Regions from separate parts of the Homo sapiens genome. Here region 1 is linked to region 2. Evidence: promoter capture Hi-C in human tissues and cell types (Jung and others, 2019). All regions are on one chromosome and are shown on one strand. Each heading gives the region's core, a stretch centred on a gene start or on the middle of the fragment in contact. The rest is flanking DNA. Distances are from core to core; before and after follow the strand shown. Region 1 overlaps C14orf39 (chromosome 14 open reading frame 39). Region 2 holds the start of SIX6 (SIX homeobox 6).

Evidence for each region. The method cuts DNA at HindIII sites, captures the fragments that hold promoters and counts their contacts. A contact is called where the count stands out against the background at its distance.
Region 1: a contact is called between a fragment that was not itself captured here and the fragment with the promoter of SIX6 in region 2, in 2 of the 25 tissues and cell types used here (H1 embryonic stem cells and heart right ventricle).

What each region holds. Positions count from the first base shown.
Region 1 is chr14:60,440,118-60,445,647 of GRCh38, forward strand. C14orf39 (chromosome 14 open reading frame 39) reads right to left here. Exons shown (of 18, transcript NM_174978.3): 17 at 1,957-2,014. Among named protein-coding and RNA genes, the nearest start is that of C14orf39, 43 kb to the right of the region's middle. The HindIII fragment of the contact is 3,929 bases long and covers 1-3,848 here.
Region 2 is chr14:60,507,433-60,513,404 of GRCh38, forward strand. SIX6 (SIX homeobox 6) reads left to right here and starts at 1,714. Exons shown (of 2, transcript NM_007374.3): 1 at 1,714-2,538; 2 at 3,652-5,418. The coding sequence starts at 1,967. The coding sequence ends at 3,820. It also overlaps a transcript of C14orf39 not described here. RefSeq lists an enhancer at 3,582-4,353. The HindIII fragment of the contact is 5,424 bases long and covers 1-3,997 here.

The sequences.
Region 1 (5,530 bases), core at 634-3,133, 67 kb before region 2:
AGACATTTAATAAATACAATTGGTAGATTCATTCTGATCTCATAGCATTAAATACCATTTATAAAAATTCCAAAATCTGTGTCTCCATCTCATTGAATTCGAAATTCATATGTACAATTTCCTACTTTACTTTCACTTACGTATCTAATAAATAGGCTTTTCAATTAAAACACTTCCTAAATGAAACCCCTGTCTCCTCAATCTCAAATTACGCTTAGAGCCTTCCATATTTCTATAAATGGCAACTCCATTCCAAGTTATTCATGTCAAAACCATGGCACAATCTTTGTTTCTCTCTCTCAATCCTTATATCCAGTCCATAAGCAAATTCTTCCAGCTCTATCTTCAGAAAACTTTGTAACCAAAATCTGACATGTTCTCACCACTTCTACTACTACTACTCATCAATTCTCACTTTGTATCATTTTATAGCTTCCTGACCTTTCCCTGCTTTTGCCCTTGTTTCCATACAGTCTGTTCTCCACATAGCAGCCAGAATAATTCTTTTAAAACCTGTCAGATCATTTCAGTCCTTTACTTAAAACCTTCCAGAGGTTTCCCATTTCACTCAGAAAAAAAACCCTAAGTCCTTAATGATCTACAGGTCCCACATGATTTGCTCTCCATCCACCTCTTGGATTTAATCTCCCACCAGTCTCTCCTTCCTTATTCCATAAATCATACCAATTTAACTAATTTTCAACGAACATACTGAGTATGTTCCCATTTCAAGACCTTTTTGCCCTTTGCTTGGAACACTTTTCCCAGTAGCTTGTATATGCACCTCCTTCTGCTCAATGTTGACTTTTAGTGATGCCTTTCCTGACTCCTTGCAATACGGCAATCACCTTCCCAATCCAAGTATTCCCTATTTCCCTTACTCTACATTACTTTGCTGCATAGTATTTATCACCAACAATAAGTAAAAAATTAACATCAAGCCTGGGAAGATTCGGGCCCACCTGGAAAATGACCTTGGAGCCTGACTTCCCACAGCACTGTTTTCACAGAATTAAGGTAAACACAGAATGTTTTATCTATCTAGTCTGCTGTGTGAGACTGCACCTGAATTAGAGGAGCTATGAGTTAGCATACAGGCCTTGGGCCTCATGACTAGAATAATATAAAAGACTGGTGTGAAATTGAAGTTACAGCTCTTGTGTTTCAAGGTGACCTACATGCAACATGCCTTTTGTCCATAGCAGCCTGACATGTTCCTTGGGTGGCAGTGGCAAAAGAAGGTGTATTACTTGGGTAGTTGGTGATCCTCTCAATGAAACAAGGATGCTGTACCTACCATTATCTCTTATCTTGTATCATTCTACAACATAAAGGTAATATTAGATTTAAAATCATAATATGTGAGTCTGACTATTCAAGCCCATAACAACTGTTGTTTAGTGTACTATCTGATAAATTATACATTGATTTATTTGACTATTTTCAGTTTATCCCACTGGAACATAAACCATATGAGAATTTTTCATTCTTGTCCACTGTCACCACAGCCCAAAAGCATACCTGATATAAAATATAATACACGTACATATTTATATTAATATGTTGAATGAATTAATCAATCAAAGGAAAAATGAAGAAAGAATATCCAATAAAAAGTATCAAAGAGAGAAAAGGAAATCCAAAAATTACAGAAAAAAGATGGAAATAACCAATTATATCAGATGTTGCAAAGAGTCTTAATATGATAATAAATACAAGATACCCATAATGTTTGATAATTGGGAGGTCAATAACCTTGGAGAAAGTAAGTTTTAATAGAGTAGTGAGAAAAGCTAATTGCTTGAAAAAGAAAGAAAAGAATATCAGTGAGTAGTGCAGAAGTAACAGTAATTTCTAAAGAATAAATTGAGCACCTAAGAAAATAAGTTAGAGAAACTAAATACTGTACTAATGAGTTAACATGTTTTTAAAGGTAGCAAACTTCAAACAACTTACCAATCTCTTGCTCTGATGACAGAGGATTTAGATTTCTTGCAGAATAATGTTCATTAAACTGGAAAATAATTTCCATTAAATATTACTTGTGAAATCAGTAGGACAGTATATATAGTACATATATTTGAATCTAAAGCTTAGTTCTTCTAACACACAGAATTAAAGTAGACATATGGTACCTTTATATAGCACACTCTTATACTTAAAAAGATCTATCTTCAAAACCTGTCATTTACTTATATTAAAATAAGGTCTATTGATTTGATTCAGGCAAAATACACTGTACTAAAGATAGCTCTTACTTTAGAATCTTAATATGATATTTTGCTTTATTCTGAAAGCTTTTAACAAATCAGGTTGTTGGTATTTTTTTTGCCTATAAAAGTAACAGGAAGTGGATAGCTTCATGTCAGTTGAGATCAAGTTTTGCTGCCAAAAGTCTATTTTATCAGTAAAACAGGCTTTTAAAAAAAATGAGATCATGACAGCATAGTTTTCTGTGCACCTTTTTCCTCTTCACATTGCATTGTGAGCATTTGTCCATGTCATTATTCTTCTAAAATCTGACTCTTTCCATGGCTCTATAATATTCCTCCACATAGACAAACCAGACAGTTTCAACCATCCTTTAATACTGGACATGTAAGTTGTCCCAACTTTGTTTTTTATATAGAAGTCACATGTGAATAAACACTGTTATGCACAGATTTATGTTTCTTTGACAATTAATAAGGAAAGCTGTTTTCTCATAGATTTTATAAGCCACTTGAATTTCTTTTTCAGTGAATTATCTCTTTGTCAAATGGACTTTGCTCATTTTTCTATTGAGAAAGTAATTTTTTCCTTATTGGTACATATAAGCACTTTATAGTCTAGAGACGTTAATTAACTATTTGCAATCTTATTGCAAATATTTTACATCTTCGTCATTTTGCCCTTAAGATTTTTTAACATATAGAAGTTTAGATTTTGGGGTCGCTTCCAAGATGGCCAAATAGGAAGAGCTCTGGTCTGCAGCTCCCAGCGAGATCTACACAGAAGACAGGTGATCTCTGCATTTCCAACTGAGGTACCTGGTTCATCTCAATGGGACTGGTTGGACAGTGGGTGCAGCCCACAGAGGGTGAGCTGCAGCAGGGCAGGGCGTCCCCTCACCCGTGAAGTGCATGGGGTTGGGGGATTTCCCTTTCCTAGCCAAGGGAAGCTGTGACAGACTGTACCTGGAAAAACAGTACACTCCCGCCCAAATACTGCACTTTGTCCAAGGTCTTAGCAACCAGCAGACCAGGAGATTCCCTCCCGTGCCTGGCTCGGTGAGTGCCATGCCCAAGGAGCCTTGCTCACTGCTAGCATAGCAGTCTGAGATTGACCTGTGAGGCTGCAGCCTGGCAGGGGGAGGGGTGTCTGCCATTGCTGAGGCTTGAGTAGGTAAACAAAGCAGCCAGGAAGCTTGAACTGGGGGAGCCCACCACAGCTCAGCAAGGCCTACTGCCTCTATAGACTCAAACTCTGTGAGCAGGGCACAGCTGAACAAAAGGCAATAGAAAACTTCTGCAGACCTAAATGTCCCTGTCTGACAGCTCTGAAGAGAGCAGTGGTTCTCCCAGTATGGCATTCAAGCTCAGAGAATGGACAGACTGCCTCCTCAAGTGGGTCCCTGACTCCCATGTAGCCTGACTGGGAGACATCTCCCAGTAGAGGCTGACAGACACCTCAAACAGGTAGGTGACCCTATGGGACAAAGATTCCAGAAGAAGGATCAGGCAGCAATATTTGCTGTTCTGCAATATTTACTGTTCTGCAGCCTCCACTGGTGATACACAGGCAAACAGGGTCTGGAGTGGATCTCCAGCAAACTACAACAGACCTGCAGCTGAGGGGCCTGACTGTTAGAAGGAAAACTAACAAACAGAAAGGAATAGCATCAACATCAACAAAAAGGACATCCACACCAAAACCCCATCTGTAGGTTACCAACATAAAAGACCAAAGGTAGATAAAACCACAAAGATGGGGAGAAACCAGAGCAGAAAAGCTGAAAATTCAAAAAACCAGAGTGCCTCTTCTCCTCAAAAGGATTGCTGCTCCTTGCCAGCAATGGAACAAAACTGGACAGAAAATGACTTTGACGAGTTGATGGATGCAGGCTTCAGAAGGTCGGTAATAACAAACTTCTACGAGCTAAAGGAGCATGTTCTAACCCATCACAAAGAAGCTAAAAACCTTGAAAAAAGGTTAGACGAATGGCTAACTAGAATAAACAGCGTAGAGAAGACTTTAAATGGCCTGATGGAGCTGAAAACCATGGCACAAGAACTTCAGGACACATACAAAAGCTTCAATAGCCGATTCGATTAAGTGGAAGAAAGGATATCAGTGATTGAAGATCAAATTAATGAAATAAAGCAAGAAGACAAGATTAGAGAAAAAAGAGTAAAAAGAAACAAACGAAGCCTCCAAGAAATATGGGAATATGTGAAAAGACCAAATATACGTTTGATTGGTGTACCTGAAAGTGACGGGGAGAATGGAACCAAGTTAGAAAACACTCTTCAGGATATTATCCAGGAGAACTTCCCTAATCTAGCAAGGCAGGCCAACATTCAAATTCAGGAAATGCAGATAACACCACAAAGATACTCCTCGAAAAGAGCAACCCCAAGACACATAATTGTCAGATTCACCAAGATTGAAATGAAGGAAACAATGTTAAGGGCAGCCAGAGAGAAAGGTCGGGTTACCCACAAAGGGAATCCCATCAGACCCACAATCCCATCAGACTAACAGCAGATCTCTCAGCAGAAACCCTACAAGCCAGAAGAGAGTGGGGGCCAATATTCAACATTCTTAAAGAAAAGAATTTTCAAGCCAGAATCTCATATCCAGCCAAACTAACCTTCATAAGTGAAGGAGAAATAAAATACTTTACAGACAAGCAAATGCTGAGAGATTTTTGTCACCACCAGGCCTGCCTTACAAGAGCTCCTGAAGGGAACACTAAACTTGGAAAGGAACAACCAGTACCAGCCACTGCAAAAACATGCCAAATTGTAAAGACCATTGATGCTATGAAGAAACTACATCAATTAACGGGCAAAATAACCAGCTAACATCATGACAGGATCAAATTCAAACATAACAATATTAACCTTAAATGCAAATGGGCTAAATGCCCCAATAAAAAGACACAGACTGGAAAATTGGATAAAGAGTCAAGACCCATCACTGTGCTGTATTCAGGAGACCCATCTTACATGCAGAGACACACATAGGCTCAAAACAAAGAGATGGAGGAAGATATACCAAGCAAACTGAAAGGAAAAAAACCAGGAGTTGCAATCCTAGTCTCTGATAAAACAGACTTTAAACCAACAAAGATCAAAAGAGATAATGAAGGCTATTACAAAATGATAAAGGGATCAATTCAACAAGAAGAGCTAACTATCCTAAATATATATGAACCCAATACAGGAGCACCCAGATTCATAAAGCAAGTCATTAGAGAGCTACAAAGAGACTTAGACTCCCACATAATAATGGGAGACGTTAACACAACACTGTCAATATTAGACAG
Region 2 (5,972 bases), core at 464-2,963:
GTCATTATCTTCATCGCCCTCTTTATTTTGCCCCTGCCTTGTCGTATTTCAAGAAAATGAACTCTTAGAAAAGAAAGCCTCTCCGTTGAGGCGGTTGGCAATCTCACAGAAATGATGTAAATGGTTTCAGGGCTTTTTTCTTCCCCTCTGCTATTTTTTTCGAGTGAACTGTGAAGATCTGTGAAAATAATATCAGGGTTTTCCGTCAGAACGAGCTTTGCCCTGCACTCAGGCGTGGCGTGATCTGACCCGACACCTCCAACCATCTGTGCTATCTATCTGCCTTCTGATTTACCAGATCTGTACAAGCCGCATACAAATTGTACTTGATACTAAAGAAAAGACAGTCGGGTCCAGTCCAGTTCGGCTGTGAACGTTCTCACCTGATTTCTGTCTAGGGATGGACCTCCCCAAAACGGTTTTCCTGGCGTTTTTGTTATACAGCCCCCTACCAGTTATTTTCTTCAAACTAAACAAACCCCTACCACAGGCCCAGATGAGATCATGGTTTCTTTGACCCAGGCCTCAGAAAATGGTATGATGTGGACTGCCAATTGGGAATCAATAAAAGTTGCCAATTCACTCCACTAGCCCAAAGTCAGAGCCACCAAGCCACTCCTTCCTCACTACAGGAGGGGTCAATAATCAGCGGCTTAGGAAGTGCTTTCTGGGCCCCCGCATTGTCGTGGATGCCCTTCTGTATTGTATTTTTACTGAATTGTTTTTGAGCTAAAATGCCAAGGTTAGAGTTGTTATCCCCAGCTCAAGAGGTATAAGTTCTAACACAAGGTAGGGGCAAAATAAGCCTACAAGGAAAGGAGTTAAGTCGATATTTTAAAAAAGATCTAGGAAATAAGCTTTTAAGTTGCTGTCCTGACCTACCAATGACTTCTCGGCTCTAGATGTGGCTATGCTGCACTTTGTTCAAGTCCATTAAACTGGGGGAGGGGGAGAAAGTATATTTCTCCCCCTTTATTTGGAGGTCCCTACAGCCCACCCTTCTTTTCTTAAAGTGTCTGACTTCGTGGTCTGCATCTGCGTTATCAGACGTGAACATGTCCTTGTTGGCATTTAAAATTATTTTAGTGGGCTTTGAAGGGAGTAAGGCTAGAGTTCAAACTGACCTCTTCTACAGATCCCTGGTCCTGTTCCTGCTGCTCCAGATTTGCTTCCCACTCAGCTGCTTTGGCAACTGGAAAGGGGAAGAGGGAGGCATGCAGAGATGGGTACTTGGGAAAAATGAGAAGATCGCTTCCCCCCACCGGCTTCCTGCTCCCACCGCAAGGTTTGCTGTTTCGTTACAACTAAACTTGCGAATTCTCGGAGCATTTCAGTTTGGCCCAGTCCTCTTTGTCCTCTGGAGACCTCTCGACCGAGACAACGCATCGCCCCAAAGTGAATTCCTGAATTCCTGTGGCATCACTGCCTATTTGGTGGGAAAAAGGGAGGGAGGGGTAGAGCGGGGTGGGGGAGGGAGGAGTAGTGAACGCTGCCGCACTCGCCTCTCTTTTTCTCCCAGACACTCGCATGTCTTTTCAACCTCCAGGTTCTGCAAAATACTGAAGAAAAGTCCAGGAGCTAACGGCGGGCGCTGTCGAGCACGGGGAGGTGCTGAAATAGTCCTGGCGTGCTGATTCAAGCTTTGATTGGCAGAGCCACCCGGTGACTGACAGGGGGTCTCCATGGCGCCCGCGCCGCCAATCCGCCCACCCCAATAGCGGAGCCAGCTCGCCTGCCGGCGTGCCTGAGCCGAGCCGAGCCCGAACCCCAAGCCGCGGAGCCAGCACCTCCTCCAGTCGGGGTCGTCCGCTCCCGGCCGTTGAGCCACCGCCGCCACCCGGTAGTGTGTCCCGCTGCCCCAATCCGCCTCATCAACAAGCGCCTGGCACACTCAGCCAGGCCCGCGGGCATCTGCTGCGTGTCCCGCTCCGGGCTCAGTGCCCTCGCCGCCGCCGGCACTGCCTCGATGTTCCAGCTGCCCATCTTGAATTTCAGCCCCCAGCAAGTGGCCGGGGTATGTGAGACCCTGGAAGAGAGCGGCGATGTGGAGCGCCTGGGTCGCTTCCTCTGGTCGCTGCCCGTGGCCCCTGCGGCCTGCGAGGCCCTCAACAAGAATGAGTCGGTGCTACGCGCACGAGCCATCGTGGCCTTTCACGGTGGCAACTACCGCGAGCTCTATCATATCCTGGAAAACCACAAGTTCACCAAGGAGTCGCACGCCAAGCTGCAGGCGCTGTGGCTTGAAGCACACTACCAGGAGGCTGAGAAGCTGCGTGGAAGACCCCTGGGACCTGTGGACAAGTACCGAGTAAGGAAGAAGTTCCCGCTGCCGCGCACCATTTGGGACGGCGAACAGAAGACACACTGCTTCAAGGAGCGCACGCGGCACCTGCTACGCGAGTGGTACCTGCAGGATCCATACCCTAACCCCAGCAAAAAACGTGAGCTCGCCCAGGCAACCGGACTGACCCCTACGCAGGTGGGCAACTGGTTCAAAAACCGCCGACAAAGGGACCGAGCGGCTGCAGCCAAGAACAGGTCGGTACCTAGAGGCCTCCGCGCTTTGAGCGCACCGGGGAGGAGGCGGGTGGAGGCACCTCTGGCGCCCTTACCCAGTCCCTGGCGACTCCAATTCAGCAGGAGTTGGGAGCGCGGTCTGTCTTGGGTTAAGAGCCCTGCGTTCTGGGCTCCTGGCCGGGAGTTCCCTTGCCGGCTCTGCTTCCCCACCCGCTGGCTCCCCACGCCTGCGGGCAGCTGCAGCAGCTGGTCCCGGTCACCAAACCAAGGCTTCACTGGGACGGAGAGGGGAAGAGAAATAAAAAATTAAAATCCTACAAACAGTTAGGGACCCCAAGACCCAAAGCTAATTCTTGTCAGCCTGGGCACAGGCTCCTACTATTAATCGAAGCCTGGCTTATTAGCAATGTGTCGGTTTCATGTTAATTATCATTTTCAAAGCCCAGGTATATCCCTCCCTAATGCTTTGAAAACAGTTTTCAATGGACTTTTGAGAAATGGGAAGTCGAGTTTTCCTCTTCCCATGCGCTGCCTGCCACTCTTGTCTCAAAACAGCAAACTAGTCCGTGGGCCGAGGCTTTTCGTTTCCCGGAGTGTGGATCTCGATTAGCCAAACATTTTGCGGAAGAGCCCGGCCTCATCCCCCAGGCCCAAATGCTCCTTACAATCCTTTTTGCCTTTAGGTCGGGCCGACCCGATCCAACGCGATCGCGGGAGCACTTGCTCAGGCGTAAGCCCCAGGCAGACGCACCGTTAGAAATGGTATCCCATGTCCCTGGGACCGATCTGTCCTTGTCACCCACACTTCGTTTATTTCCTGACAGTCCTGTAAATCTCCCAAAAGTGCACAACAAACAGGGAGGACACTGCAAGCCCAGTATATAAAAGACCTGGGAGCTGCGGCGCTGAGAAAGGGCGCGAATCATGGTGGGGCACAACAGTAGGGACCCGCGGAGGGGCGGCCGCGGACTCCTGCCCGACCTCTGTCGCCTTGCCGAGTAATCCTCGCCTTAACTGCTGGGGTCTTCGGAAGAACCTCTAGCCGCCGGGCTGGAGGGACGCAGGAGGTGGTGGGGGCGGGCGACGGGCGGCTGTGTTACGAGCTGTGACCCGTGTTCCCTTTCTTCCCCGTAGACTCCAGCAGCAGGTCCTGTCACAGGGTTCCGGGCGGGCACTACGGGCGGAGGGCGACGGCACGCCAGAGGTGCTGGGCGTCGCCACCAGCCCGGCCGCCAGTCTATCCAGCAAGGCGGCCACTTCAGCCATCTCCATCACGTCCAGCGACAGCGAGTGCGACATCTGAGTTGCCCATCCAGGATGCTCAGAAGCAGATTCCAGTGTAAAAACGAGAAAAACAAAATGAAAGAGGGGAAGAAGATGAGAGACCTGCAAATCCAGCGCCACAGAAGCCAGGTGACCAGGGACCCGCGGGCTCGGGTTGCCGTTTCCCGCCCCACCCCGCGGCCGGCCTGGCTTCACTGGCGCCCTTTGGCCGCGACCACGGGAACCAGCGGTGAGGCCTGACCCAGCACCACGTTCTTCTTGCTTTGCTTTTTCCTAAGGATTTTGCTGCAAAGTCTCCTTCGGAACCCGAACTGCAAGCTGAGCGCCTGCCCAGATTCTCCCATGGGTATTTCACGTCGAAAGGACGCTGTTACATATGTATAACTTTCGCTTTAAAGTTTTTTTTTAACAAAACATATATATGCTGTTTATTTACTTATTTAAGAGACCGCCATGGTAGGTTTCTCTGTAGCTTGGGGAACTTGCTGTTTCTAAACATGCAGGCTGGTGGTGATGGGTTCTGTGTGGAGAAGCCAAACAATAAAACAACCTAGTGGGCAACCTTCTTAATTAAGGGAGCTGCTCTCAGATTCCTTTTCTTCTTATTATTATTAATATCATTCCCTTCACCAGGCATGCAGGGACCCTTGAGCAAATGGTCTCCGGAAGGTCTTACCTATATATCTTTTGCCTTCTTTGGTGCTTCCTGGTATATGTTTTAAACAACCTATGGTAGGTCTATAACCACCTCCCACGTCAAATTACACGTATGTGCATATATGTATGTACCTATACAAACATATGTATGTACCTATACAAACATATGTATGTATGCATACACGTGATATATTTAAGGCTAGAAATTGGCAACATGTGAGCGTCCTCTCTAAGGCAAGTCCCCGCATCCCCAGCACAGGTAATTATGGCTTGTCCACTTGACACTCGTTTACATGAAGTGTCAACAGCTTTCAGGAGCAATTTAGGAAGCCAAACTATGGGACTCAATAAGTGAGTCCTATTTTCTAAAAATGCAAAACTATCCTGACTCAGGCTCTGCAGCAAGAAAGGCTTTCTGTCTCCTTCAAGGCCCCCTCCAATACAAAAGCAGCAGGCACCCATGATCATGCTAGAGTGAGCATATACTGCATTTAGGATTGAGCTATTATTAAAATAAGACAAAAGATGATAGAAGAGGTTGTAAATAATTAGACTAACATCTTCTTGCTGCAGAATTTGGTTTTAATCAAATGAATGGTTTTTAACAAGAGGGATACTGAGATGGGGGAAAGGATGTAATCATGTCACATACTGAGGGTAAAACAAGGCTGTAGAAATAACTGGCATTTTAAAAACCTAATCTCCGAATTAAGCATAGAACAAGTCATCAAGGGCCTCATTGTCCTGGTAATGGCCTCGATTAAAACATAAAATATTTTTAGCATTTAATTTTTCCTCGTGCACATGCATGTATGCACCTATACATGAACAAATGCATGCATATACAACGCAAAAACATCTACCATCTTTGCACTAAGAAAATAAATGCTAGCCAGAGTCTCTAATTTTGTTCCTAGTGAAACAGATTGCATATTATAAAATTTGACATTGATCTTTAAATCACTTGAGCTGACTTCCCTCTTTACTGTCCCCATCCCCCAATTACAGCCTTTTCCATTTGCCTTTCTGTCCTTAGAAGATGTTCTTTGGATCAGAAGCCTGCTAACTTCTTTAGGCAGAAGTGCCAAAGTGCAAACCAAACAAAAATAAGTGAAGTCATGGAAGACAAAAAGCAGCCAAACGGCAAGATAGACAATGGAAGCCCAGGACAGAGTAAGGGTTGATTTTTGGTTTCTAAATCGCTTGAATAGATTTGGCTCATTTGGGCTTTATAAATGTTGTCCTTGTGTATGGTGGCCCTTATCCAGAGAATTCTTGAAAATCAAAACTCTCTTGCACAAGAGCTTTACATGGAAGGAGTGGGTAAGTTTTCGTGATAAAACTGGTGTTCTTTCCAAAAGCAAGCAAAAGCCCTCCTGTGGGTCCTGAAAGGCTCCCATTGTAGAGCTTCCTCAGTACTTAATTTTGTTTCCTAGAGCCCCAGGTAGTTCCTAGAATGCTAACGAGGGGCTGGCGAGGACTAGAGTGAGGCCAGGAGGGGACTCACGGTCAAG